Regions from separate parts of the Homo sapiens genome. Here region 1 is linked to region 2. Evidence: promoter capture Hi-C in 16 types of primary human blood cells and fetal thymus (Javierre and others, 2016). All regions are on one chromosome and are shown on one strand. The core of a region is centred on a gene start or on the middle of the fragment in contact, and the rest is flanking DNA. Distances in the headings are between cores, read along the strand shown. Region 1 overlaps TNPO1-DT (TNPO1 divergent transcript). Region 2 holds the start of ZNF366 (zinc finger protein 366).

What was found. The method cuts DNA at HindIII sites, captures the fragments that hold promoters and counts their contacts. A CHiCAGO score of 5 or more calls a contact.
Region 1: a contact is called between a fragment that was not itself captured here and the fragment with the promoter of ZNF366 in region 2, in 2 of 17 cell types (M2 macrophages and M1 macrophages). The highest score is 6.9, in M2 macrophages.

What each region holds. Positions count from the first base shown.
Region 1 is chr5:72,596,951-72,602,680 of GRCh38, reverse strand. The region is part of intron 7 of TNPO1-DT (TNPO1 divergent transcript); the gene reads left to right. Among named protein-coding and RNA genes, the nearest start is that of ZNF366, 92 kb to the right of the region's middle. RefSeq lists an enhancer at 4,253-4,352. The HindIII fragment of the contact is 967 bases long and covers 2,994-3,960 here.
Region 2 is chr5:72,505,481-72,511,233 of GRCh38, reverse strand. It overlaps ZNF366 (zinc finger protein 366), which reads left to right and starts at 3,824. Exons shown (of 5, transcript NM_152625.3): 1 at 3,824-3,983. The HindIII fragment of the contact is 5,585 bases long and covers 2,900-5,753 here.

The sequences.
Region 1 (5,730 bases), core at 2,228-4,727, 92 kb before region 2:
GTGTTATTGGAAGCATTTGCTTTAGTAAACAGACATTTGTGAAGTTGGGTCAATACGGATGGGGATTGAGATGGGGATAGGGGGTGCGTTCTGATTAATCGAATTTTCTGGTGAACTCAGAGTATTGGAAAATTCATCCTTTTTGTTTTCACCAATATTACATTTTTTTTCCTGCAGTAACTATTTTCCTGCCTTAAGTTATACAACAGAAAGAACATGTTGCATTGGCCTTTGAGTGGGGCCATGGGCTAACAAAGGAGCAGAGTGGAAGCTGGGAGGTTGGATTTTGGTCCCAGTTCTGTCATGGCTTTGTGCAAGTCACTGAACCTTCCTGGGCCTTAGAATCCTCCTTTCAAAAGTGAGGTGTTTTCCTCAGACCATGCTAGAGGGAATGTAAAATGGTGCAGCCTCTGTGGAAACAGTCTGGTAGTTTCTCAAAAGTTAAACAGAATGATCACATAATCCAGCAATTCCACACCCAAGGGAACTAGAAAGATGTTCAAACAAAAGCTTACACATGAACGTTCATGAATTCTATTCATGGTAGCCAAAGAAGTGGAAATGACCCAATGTTCATCAACTGATGAATGAATTTTTAAAAGTGGTATATCCATACAATGGAATAGTATTCATCCATAAAAAGGGAGACATACTAACACATGTTACAACATGGGTGAACCTTGAAAACCTTGAAAATGAAGTGAAAGAAATCAGACACAAAAGGCCACATCTTACAGGATTCCATGTATATGAAATGTCTAGAACAGGCAAATCCATAGCAAAAAATAGATTATCATTTGACAGGGGCTGTGGGGGAGAGAGAAATGGGAAGTGCCTGCTAAATGGGCCCAGGGTTTCTTTTGGGAGTGATAAAACGTTCTGGAGCTGCTAGGTAGTAGTGATGGTTGACAATATTATGAATAGACTAAAAACCACTTAATTGTATTAATACACTTTAAAATGGTTAAATGGTGAATTTTATGTTATATGACTTTTATCTCCATTAAGAAAACGAGAAGTTTAAACTTAAATGTCTCAAAGATTTCTTAAAGCTCTAAGACTCGGTGATTTAATGACACCTTTCTAATACACAGTAAATGATCATTAAACGTGTGATGAATTGAATGGAAAGAAATGTTGCAATATAACTCAGACTATAGACAATACTTTCCTAATTGTAAAGGTAGCTGGATCAGATGACATCTTCAGGGTCCTGATATGGTATAACCTGTAGGAAAGAATCATCTTTAAATTAATGCATTTCACCAAATGTGTGCTGGTAAAGGCTTAACAACCAGTTCTCCAAGAAAAAAATAAAATATGCAATATATATGTATGCACATTTATTATAAATTTTTGCATCACCTCCCTGCAAAAATACTTGCACTCGAATCCTTCTCTCTGGATCTCCTGGGGAATGCAAACTGAAATATCTGTGTAATCTATTTCCTGCATTAAATCTTCTCTACTTTTGTACTTGTATAGTTTCTATTTTCCTGTTTAGACTCCAACTGCTGCCTCTCCACTGTGACACGGATCCCTGCCATAGCCCTACCTTTCTACCTTGCTAGGAAGGAGAAGGAGTCCTGCCAGGCCACTGTTCCTCACAGCAGCCTGAAATATAGGTCTGAATATATATAAACGATATAAATTAAGAACCTATAGGAGGCAGAGAATCCCCATTATCATTATGCATGGCATCATTGAACCACTCCTCAAGGTCTGGAAAGTGTTTGAATCCAGCCTGTTTGATTTCAAATTCTCTCAGATACTGTTCTATGGTGACTCATGCTTGGGCAAGTCTCAATGTTCTAGTCTTTTCCTTCTCAGGATTAAAAGGGCCCATTCTAGCTGTCTGCTACATGGTGCATCTGCAAAATAGGGAGCTGCAAAGGAGCTTTCTAGTGGGTTTGCTCAGTGCTGGATTACTTGGATGGGTGGGCTACTCAGGAGTTTATTGCACCAAACGAAAAAGCGTTGGAGGGGAACTTATGTTTGATATTTCAAAACTAGCATTAACACAGTCATGAGAAAAAAATGCCACAGAATTTTGTTGCATTTCATCACAAGTTTTATGACTTGTGCTTTGTCATAAAACAAACTTATTTTATGGCTTGGGGTTGTGCTTGTTTTACATGACATCTGTGCACAGTGTTGCATGACTATCGGATAGACACACAGCCCTATGTGACTAATGCCCCTGTGGTTGTGTGATGCAGCAGCCCTGGGAGAAGGAGGCATGAGAATAATTTTGATGCTGGTGGCTTCCATACATTTCAATATGCTCTTGGGTCTTTAATATACAGGGGAACTAGAAATCAAGAAGTTATGTGACTGCATGACATCTGGCTCTTAGGAGGTCAAAGGACGTAAATATCCAAAACAACAACAGCCAAAACCCAAGGTGTCTGTTAAGGGAAGCAGGCTTAGTGGGAAGTGCCCAGGAAAATCTCCTTGGAGGGTTTGTTCCTCAGGGAAGAGAGTAAGAGAGGAGAGAGAGCCCTTGGCTCGCATAGCTAATTGCAAGCAGGAGGAAGCGGAAAAAGAACATGATTAGCATGTTTCTCTCCTTCCCTCTATAAAGATGACAGAAGCAGGCAATCTGCTGTTTGTGCAGAAGGGGCATAGGGAAGGAGAGAAGAGAGCATCTGTTCTGAGAAACTGCTGTTTAAAAATGCAAGAAGAACACAAAGCAAAGGAGGAAATCTCCATTGTACAGGCCACTGGCTCTGAAAACCATGAGAACTGGAGAGGTACCTGCCGAGAAAGCCTCAGGTTGCCCTGACTCTGGATCTGGCACCTGGGCTCAGAAGCCCTGTTGGGGGCCTTCTTCTCTGCCCTTCAGAGCTGAGGCTTTCAGTTGTGGTCCCTGGCTGTGACCTCCAACTAAGGAACAGCCTTCCTAAGGACAGACATGCCACCCACGTCTGCAGTCAGCCATCCTCACCCTTACTGACCAGGGCTGTCAATTTTTAAAGTGAGTTAGCAAAGCTTCCTGGCCAGAGAGTGAGTCACAGTCTCTACCCTCACACCTCCTCCTCTGTTCTCTGTCCAAGAATTGATGCTAATTATTTTTGTGGAAAATAAGGAGAGCCAATGTCTCCAATGGATGATGTAACTGGGAATCCCAAAGTTTGAAGGCCTCCATGCTTCTGGAAGAATCAGGGAATGCCTTCGAAGGAGCCAGCAGAATGACCTCTCAGCCAAGCCAAATATCTGATGTCCTGAGGGTTGGTCTTGGCCTCTAGAGCCTCCCTCTCTTGTGGGAAGTATCAGGAGCAAGGTCCCCTATCACATACCTCTAGCTGCCTTTGATAGGCAAATCCACCTACTCAAAGGCCATTCATCAGAAGGGATGTAGTGTGACCCCAGATTCTGTAGGTACTTTTCTATTTATATTCTACCTCAGTTTATTTGTAGACTGAACTGGATCGTAAACATGTGTGGGTGGCAGCCATCCTTGCATTCCTGGTGTTGATGAGCTCGATGCTATTCTAATAGTAGGTACTTAATAGTTATTTAAGTTTGTGAATAATTGGCCCTCAGATCTTGCACCTCTATCAGTTAAAATGAGAGAAGAGAGAAAGAGACCCCCCCATATTGTTCTATATTGTTTTATACTCAGTACCTGTTTTAAGAAGAAACAAGGAAGTGAAACCAAAAGCAGGCAGCCCGGCACCAGGCACCAGACCCAAAACCAGACCCAAAACCAGGCCTTGGCCTGCCTGACTTTACCTGATAGTTAAAATTCAACCCGTGACCTAGCAACCAATCTTATCCATAGATTCCAGACATTGTATGGAAGGACATTGTGAAACTTCCTGTTCTGTTCTGTTTCACTCTGACTACCAGTACATGAAGCCTCTGTCACATACCCCCTAGATTGCTCAATCAATCACAGCCCTTTCATGTAAAATCTTTAGTGTTGTGAAGGGACAGAAATTGTGCACTCGAGAAGCTTGGATTTTGAGACGTTAGTCTGCTGATGCTTCCAGCTGATTAAAGCCACTTCCTTCACTACCTCAGTGTCTGTGGGGTTTTGTCCACAGCTCATCCTGCTACAAAAATAAACCAGCCTTGCAAATAAGAACAGAAATCTGAACAATCTTCTTTCCTGATGATATGGTTTGGCTGTGTTCCCACCCAAATCTCATCTTGAATTGTAATCCCCATAATCCTCACGTGTCATGGGAGGGACCCCATGGGAGGTAACTGAATCATGGGGGTGGTTTCCCCCATGCTGTTCTCATGAAAGTGAGTGAGTTCTCATGAGATCTGATGGTTTTATAAGCATATGGCATTTCCCCTACTGGCACTCATTCTCTCTCCTGCTACCTTGTGAAGAGGTGCCTTCCACCATGATTGTAAGTTTCCTGAGGCTTCCCCAGTCATGTGGAACTGTGAGTCAATTAAACCTGTTTTCTTTATAAATTACCCAGTCTCAGGTATTTCTTCATAGCAGCATGAGAACAGACTAATACACCTGAGTCCCAGGGGTCTTTATCCCGCTACTTACTGGAAGAAAGGATCACTTTCAAATCTATTTTCTCATAGTAAAGTGGGAGTAATAACAGAACCTTCCACAGGATTTAATGAGGGCAGGCATATAAAACAGCACAATATCTAATGCTAGCTGTTTTATCATCACTGTCATCATCATTTTTCAGATTGTTATTTCTAAGATGAAGCATATTTTCTCCAGGGATTCTGTGAGCAGGGTGGGCACCCTCTGACTCTCCCCTTTGAAAGAGAATCATAGAAACATGGATGACAGATAAGAAACCTAGCAACAGTCACGCTGATATTCTATCAGCTCCCTGGCAGCCATTTCTCCATGACTAAGCACTTGCATTCCTTAGCCTGTCTGCAAATCCAGTGATATCCACAGACACATATCTTTCCTTCTCCTGTTACTGAGGCCAAGCATTGCCATTTCCTTGAGATAAGTACTGCCTGTAGCCCTGCCGTGGGTGTGAAGGGATACTTTCATCTGGTTTCGGCTTGCTTTTAGGTCAAGACAATTTATCCTCAGGCTTCAGGCTCTGAGGAAATTATTGGCAGTTGTAAAGAAAAGATGTATTGGTATACCTGTGCTCTGTGACAGCCCCCACAATAAGCCCTGTGCTCCTTCTCACCCACAAAGTCCAAGGAGGCACGTGGTTAGCTAGGATGATTGACGGGTTTATGACCTGCCTTGCAAGAAAGCCTGTCACTGAATCACATTTTAATATTGTATCCTAGTCTTTTAAAATCAGGGGTTAATATAATAACAGACATTTAAAGAATGTTTATGTGTCTTCAATACAACCATCACAGAACACATTATTATTATTTGCTGGTGCTGATACTCTCAGTCCTAGTGCTAGTAACGATATTTTAAATTTGTAATGTGTTCATTACGTTACAAGTCACATTACAGATGGTGAAATGAGATGAGAAAGGTGAAGTGATGGTGTAGGTGGGGCTCAGGCCCAGTGCCATGGGTATCTGTGCTCCAGAACCTGCCCTCCCTTTGTACCACATTGGCTAATGTGCTGCGCTGGTATAGTGAATCACACAATAAAGTCCTCTAAGAATAAAGACCAGAAAAAAACACTTTCATTGCCTGCTTTCTTGTATCAGATAATGTTTTACTTTGGCTTCAGAGTGTCAGTGAGTTCAGAAGCAAATGCCAAGGTCAACAAACCATATCAGCCTAGGCTTCTGGAATTCAAATGTCCCCATCCATTT
Region 2 (5,753 bases), core at 2,575-5,074:
TTTGAGAGTTGGGACTTGGAGGCTTTGGGGGTTTGGCAAGTTGAAGACAATAAATCAAAGAAACTAAGGAAGTTTCAAAGCAGTTTCAGGCCGGGGACTGCGCCATCCCCCCTGCACTTTCATATAACAAAACTCAGCATGTTCGTGAGAAGCCCAGAGCGGGGAGGAGAGACACATTTTCCATCGAATCTGTAGTGGAGATGGGGAGCCGCTGGAGCATGACTCAGAGCAGCAGGAACTAGCATCTCCAGGTTGCTGCAGGAAGTGAGAACAGTGGCTCCTAACCAGTGCCCAAGCGCCTCAGGAACTCTGCCAGTGTCTCCAAAGGCATGGCCGTGTCCTCAAATCAAAGTCATTTGATTTCTTTTTTTAAATCTATGCTATGCATCCCCTTTGAGAGGAAGTGAGTGCCAAAGGATACCAAACAGAAAGACTGAGTCACTGGAGTGGCCAATCTTCCTGGAGAGAGATGAGTCCTGCATCAGGCTTCTAAAAAGACATCTGGCAGGGACAAGAATATTCCTGGCAGCCCATTTGTAATGGCTCCAAACTAGAAACAATCCAATGTCTGTGTTAAGTAGAACAGACATCTAAATGGTGGTATATTCACAGAATGAAACCCTATCCAGCAATGAGAGCGAATGAGCCACAGCTACACTCAACAATAGGGACGAATCCCATGAATATACTATCGAGGCAAAGAAACCAAATGAAGTGCAAGCCAATGCCATTTTCATGTAAATTCAAAACCAGGTAATGTGCATCCATGTCAGGTGCTGGAAGTCAGGGCACCTGAGAGGAGGTAGTGACAGGAGGGGCTTGGGGGGCCTCTGTCCTCTTTCTTAATCTGAGGGCTGGCTACTCAGATATGTTCCTTTTGTGAAGTTCCCTGACCGGTACACTTACGTTTTGTGTACTTTTCTGAAGAATATGTTCTATTCCAAACCTTTCTCCATTTTCTCCTACGCTGCTACCTCCATGACCTGAAGTCAAGTTAGTCTGGGAGTCAACAGATAACCCCAGAGTCTGTGTCATTGGAAGCTGGTGCCATACAAATTAGGACGCTTCAGAGGCAGGACGCCATTTTGAGTAGAGCACCTATTTCTGTGGTGCTGGTTCTGAGGGTTAGGGTCACAGCACTGTCCTCACCTAGGTTTCTCTCCTGTCCTCCTATCTCGTCCCAGGGGTGGGCAGCTCCTCTCTCTACTCAAGTGATCTCTATGATACGCTGTGCAACATGGGGCTTTCCTGAGGGGTGAGAGCCAAGGCCATATGCCATTCCTGCTCATGCGTCTCAGTTGGATCCTTCACTTTTAGTCAGGATCCAGATAGGCCAGGACAGAGTTAGAGCTCCAGTGGACTGATCAGAAATCTGTCCTGCCAAACCTAATGGGAGGGTTAGGAATTTCTGCTCCTGACACCCAGTGGGTGGTTTCACAAGTTTTAGAGGGTGACTGTTCAGGTGACTGGCAGCACAAGGAAAGAGGGAAAAGCCTTTTCTGTGAATTTCACAGGCAGGGTTGCAACGCGGTGTGAGCATGGAGCAGCTTGGCACAAGGCAGCCTTGAGAGTCCCCTGGCTGGCTGCGGGGATGATGTCAGATCCCGACTGGATGCTGCCCCATTCAGTCAAAGCCGTGCAGCCTGAAATGGCACATGTCCCCATCCAGGCTGTCTGGGCGGGTCAGCTGGCCTGGAGACAACAACACAGCCTCAACGTGACAGTCCCCACATTCTGCAGACTTAAAAGGGAAATCCTTTGGATTCTGCCTGGACTCCTGGGGCTCAGCCCTGGCCTTGCCTTGAGGGTGCAAAGAGGAGTAAAAATATGGGAAGGCCTGTGTGCAGCTGCAATGGATTCTTCAAGTGATCAGAGGCGGTTTCCTGCCTGTGAGGAGTTGGTACCATGAGCGTCTTGTTCCTTGGGTCCCTCCTTTCCTCTGCTGCTGATGCCCCGCACACCTTGCCCCCTCCCTATTGCTTCTCCTCACCCCACCTCACTCCCAAGGACGTCTGCTTTTTTATTGTGAATTTCAGCTGCCTGCTTGTTTCACCTCCGGTTACTCAAAGGTTTGCCCCAGTGTTTCTCCCCCTTTAAAAGACTCCATTCCTAGGCCTTCCTGCTCCATTCCCTCATGCCCTTCCCTGGCTTTCTCAGATTTTCATTTTCATTTCCCTTCCCATTTCTACAAAGGCAGGATGTAGAGGAAGGCCAGCAGAGGGCAAAGAGCCCGAGAGCCGGGATCAGGAGACAGGAACGTGTTGGCGTGTGGCTCTAAGCGAACCAAAGAGACTGTCTCTGGTCATCCGTGTTCCCCACTGTTGGTGAGGCTGGGTCACCCAGGCCAGAACTCAGTGCCATGGGTTGTGCCAGTGTTGGTGCTGTGGCGGATGCAAGGAATGGGACTCTGCTCTGGCTTGTGCACACCTACCGAGTAACAAAATCTTCATGTCTCTCTCTGATACATGCACACATATTCAGATAACTAGATAGACAGGGAGATAGATAGATATATGGATAGATTAGATAGATAGATGATAGATAGATAGATAGATAGATAGATGATAGATAGACAGATAGATGATAGAAAAATATCTGTCAGAATAAAAACATAATCCTATAGGCCAATAAGGACTCAATCAAAATCTTACAGGGTCACTGAATCAGAATCATTCTTCCCCTGAACTCACTTTCATGACTCTTTGCAATCAGGTGTATCTGTCCACCCCATTTTTTTCACAGTTGGGTGAAATGAGGAAGTAGTGTAAGGCTGGTTTTTCTTTTGCTGCCACAAAGGTCTACATAACTGCTGGTTCCTGTTCACAGTGAAAATGGTCCTAACCAGATGAATAAGGGACACAAGAGACATAACACAAATCAGAGAAGTTAAAACCAAGCTTATTCCTAAGTGCAACTAGCCTAAGCAAGCTCATGCCTGCCTGCTGAAGCCCCAAGTCTTCTACCTTGATAAAGGTTACTCCCTCCATTTTAACTGCTCCTGCCTCCCCTATCTTTTTTCGAACACCATGGCTGATTTATCTAAACCCTATGCTGCTTCACAGTATTTTGAAAACAAATTAGAAATCTCCTTCCAGTTTTCCAGAGGTGATTAAATCCAAGACGCCTTAGGAATGTAGAGGATAGAATAATATAAACAACAGATCTGAGATAACCATGGCCGGCAGCAGTTGTGGTTAGTTGCTTCTTTTCCTTTTTCATCCATCAGTGATGGAAGCTGGATTGGGTCCACTGTATAAAGTTCGGTGGGCATAAATCTGCTATTTGATCCTGGAAAAACTCTAAGGATCTAGAGTCAGCGAGGAATTGCAGCAATGCTGGTGTTTCAAAGGGCCTAAGAAAAGCCAGGAGTCCTGGCTGCCCAGCCCCGACACTGTCTTACAGGCTGCAGGTTTACCTTGGTTAGCACAACAGGCCAAGCTCTCCCTTGCTCTAAGTCGACATGACATGATTTGTTCCCTTTCGGCTGTGTCAGTTCTGCAAACCAGATACCAGAGGCTGCAGGCTCAGGAGAGCCTGCCTGTCTGGAACACCGTTTGTTTGGACAGGACAGGCCACTAAGGCGTTTCATCTCTTTAAAGCTCCCAGGGCAGAGAACATATTTGAGGAATTCCTTTTTTCAAAGATTTTTTTTTTTTGCCCCTTCCAACATTTTGTTTAAGAGAAAATGAGATGTCTATCTTCTGTTTCCTTATTTTTTTTCAGGAAAGCAAAGGGTTGTTGACTTCCTCCCTCTCCCCTCCCTTCCTTCCTTCTTCCCGAAGGTACTCATCTGAGAAAAAGAGAACGAAGTATTGTTCCTGTTCTCTTTCTTAAGTCATTCGAAACACTGTCCCTGCGAGTTCTTTAAGTTCCCTGCAATCTGTACACAAGAGAAAGAGGGAGAGAGAGAGGGAGAGAGACAGAGAGAGCAGGGATCAGGTAAAGGAGTGGGGCTGCTGCAGCCATTCAGACCTCAGGAGCTGGTAAGTTACCCATGCAATCATTTCTGCTTCCTTTTCAAGGTTCCTGGGTGGATACTGCTGTGGGCATCTTCAACAGAAAATACCTTACTGGGAGTAGTCCTTAACCAAAGGGTATAAGTGATAGATGGCCCAGAATTTCAGCTAATACTTTTTTTTGGTAAGAGAATACTGATGCTTTGCAGAACTAAGGCTGGCAAAACTAGAAATAGAATTACATTGGGACTAAAGAGGACACTGCGTTAAATCTGAATTTTGGCACAGATCATGTGGCTGGGAGAACCAGGAGCCACTGGCGTGTGAGATGTGTCCCACTGGAGAATTTGCTCTTCCTCAGTACTGTGTCCTGGGAGCCTTATCAGGGTGTCTGTTAAGGACTGTGGTTTGCTCTGGGGTTTTTGTTAATACGTTACCTGGATTGAGGTGCCCTTCTCCTGTTCTTTTCTTTCCATTCAGCATCCCCCTAAAGGAGGATTGTTAATTGTTATATGATGGTTATTCTGCATCACTGAAGTAGAAGGGAAAGAGAGAAGGGAATGTCACTTGGAAATAGTTCTGCATGTGGGGAGCTTATGTGTTCAGGTTCCCCATGCGGGTTGAGTGTAAATTTATTATTCACTGTCAGTGGAAGATGTCATCTGCCACATGATAGAAGGCAAAGGTTTTGGGGCATATAGCTTTAGTTTTGGAAAACAATATGCAGCTAGAATGGGAGGATTAAGATGGATCATTTATGTCAGTAGGAGGGAAAAACTAAGTTACAGACGCAATTGAAAAGCATTCACCCAGTGCCTGGTTTTCCAAGCACCAAATAGGGCGTAGCAAGCTAGTCAAGCTAACATACACAACTAGTTTTTAAAAGTCTAACTTGCTTCAATTAGATTAGTCATAAAGGATAATGTTACCAGCACCTATCATCGCAAGCCATGAGGGAGCCGAAATCATGTTGTCAAAAATAGGTCAGCAAGGTCACTCCGAGAGACTCGTTATGTTTCCCAATATTAATACTTTAATTCAGAGAGATGCCGAATGGGTAAAAGCCAATGGCCAAGCATACTTTTTAAAAATATTCACTGCTATGAAATTTACTGATTGAAATCACCTGGGATGTGAAGAATAAGATAAAAATAGCTGGACTCTCATTTTAAAAATTAATTTGGCTAGACTATGCTTTAACCACATTCAAGTAATTAATCTTTATTCAAAATTGAACCATCATCTTACTAAGGATGAGAAAACATGACAGAACTAGACTGTGATGTAGCTTTTGTTCCATTAGTCAGACCTCTTTTTTCTTCTCCTTTTTTCAAGGATTTTCTTTAGGAGCATCATAAAACGAGCAATGTAAAGAGACGTGAATAGCGTTTGCCAGCTTGCGGATGCAAAATTATTCTAATAACAATTGAAAGTGTTTTACTGCTACCCTACCACCTCCCCTAACTACTCCATTTCCATAGATCTTCAGATCAAGAGGTAGCTGGAATAGATTGTCGAGGGCATTATTGCATCATTTATCAGCAACTGTGGCCCCAGAAGAAAACGCAGGTCTGCGATCTTGACTTGCTCCTTTCAGTTTCATTTCTCTTGATAATGTATTGAATTTTGTGCTCAACTAAAACAACATCACAGAACACATTCTAGTTTTGTTTACTGAGTAAAAGCATCAGATGCAACACAATAGGAAACAAATGACAGCAGAGTCATTTGTTAAAGACAAGGAAGGCAATTAAATTAAAGACAAGGAAAGCACAAGGTGGGTAGGCCAGTGGCTCA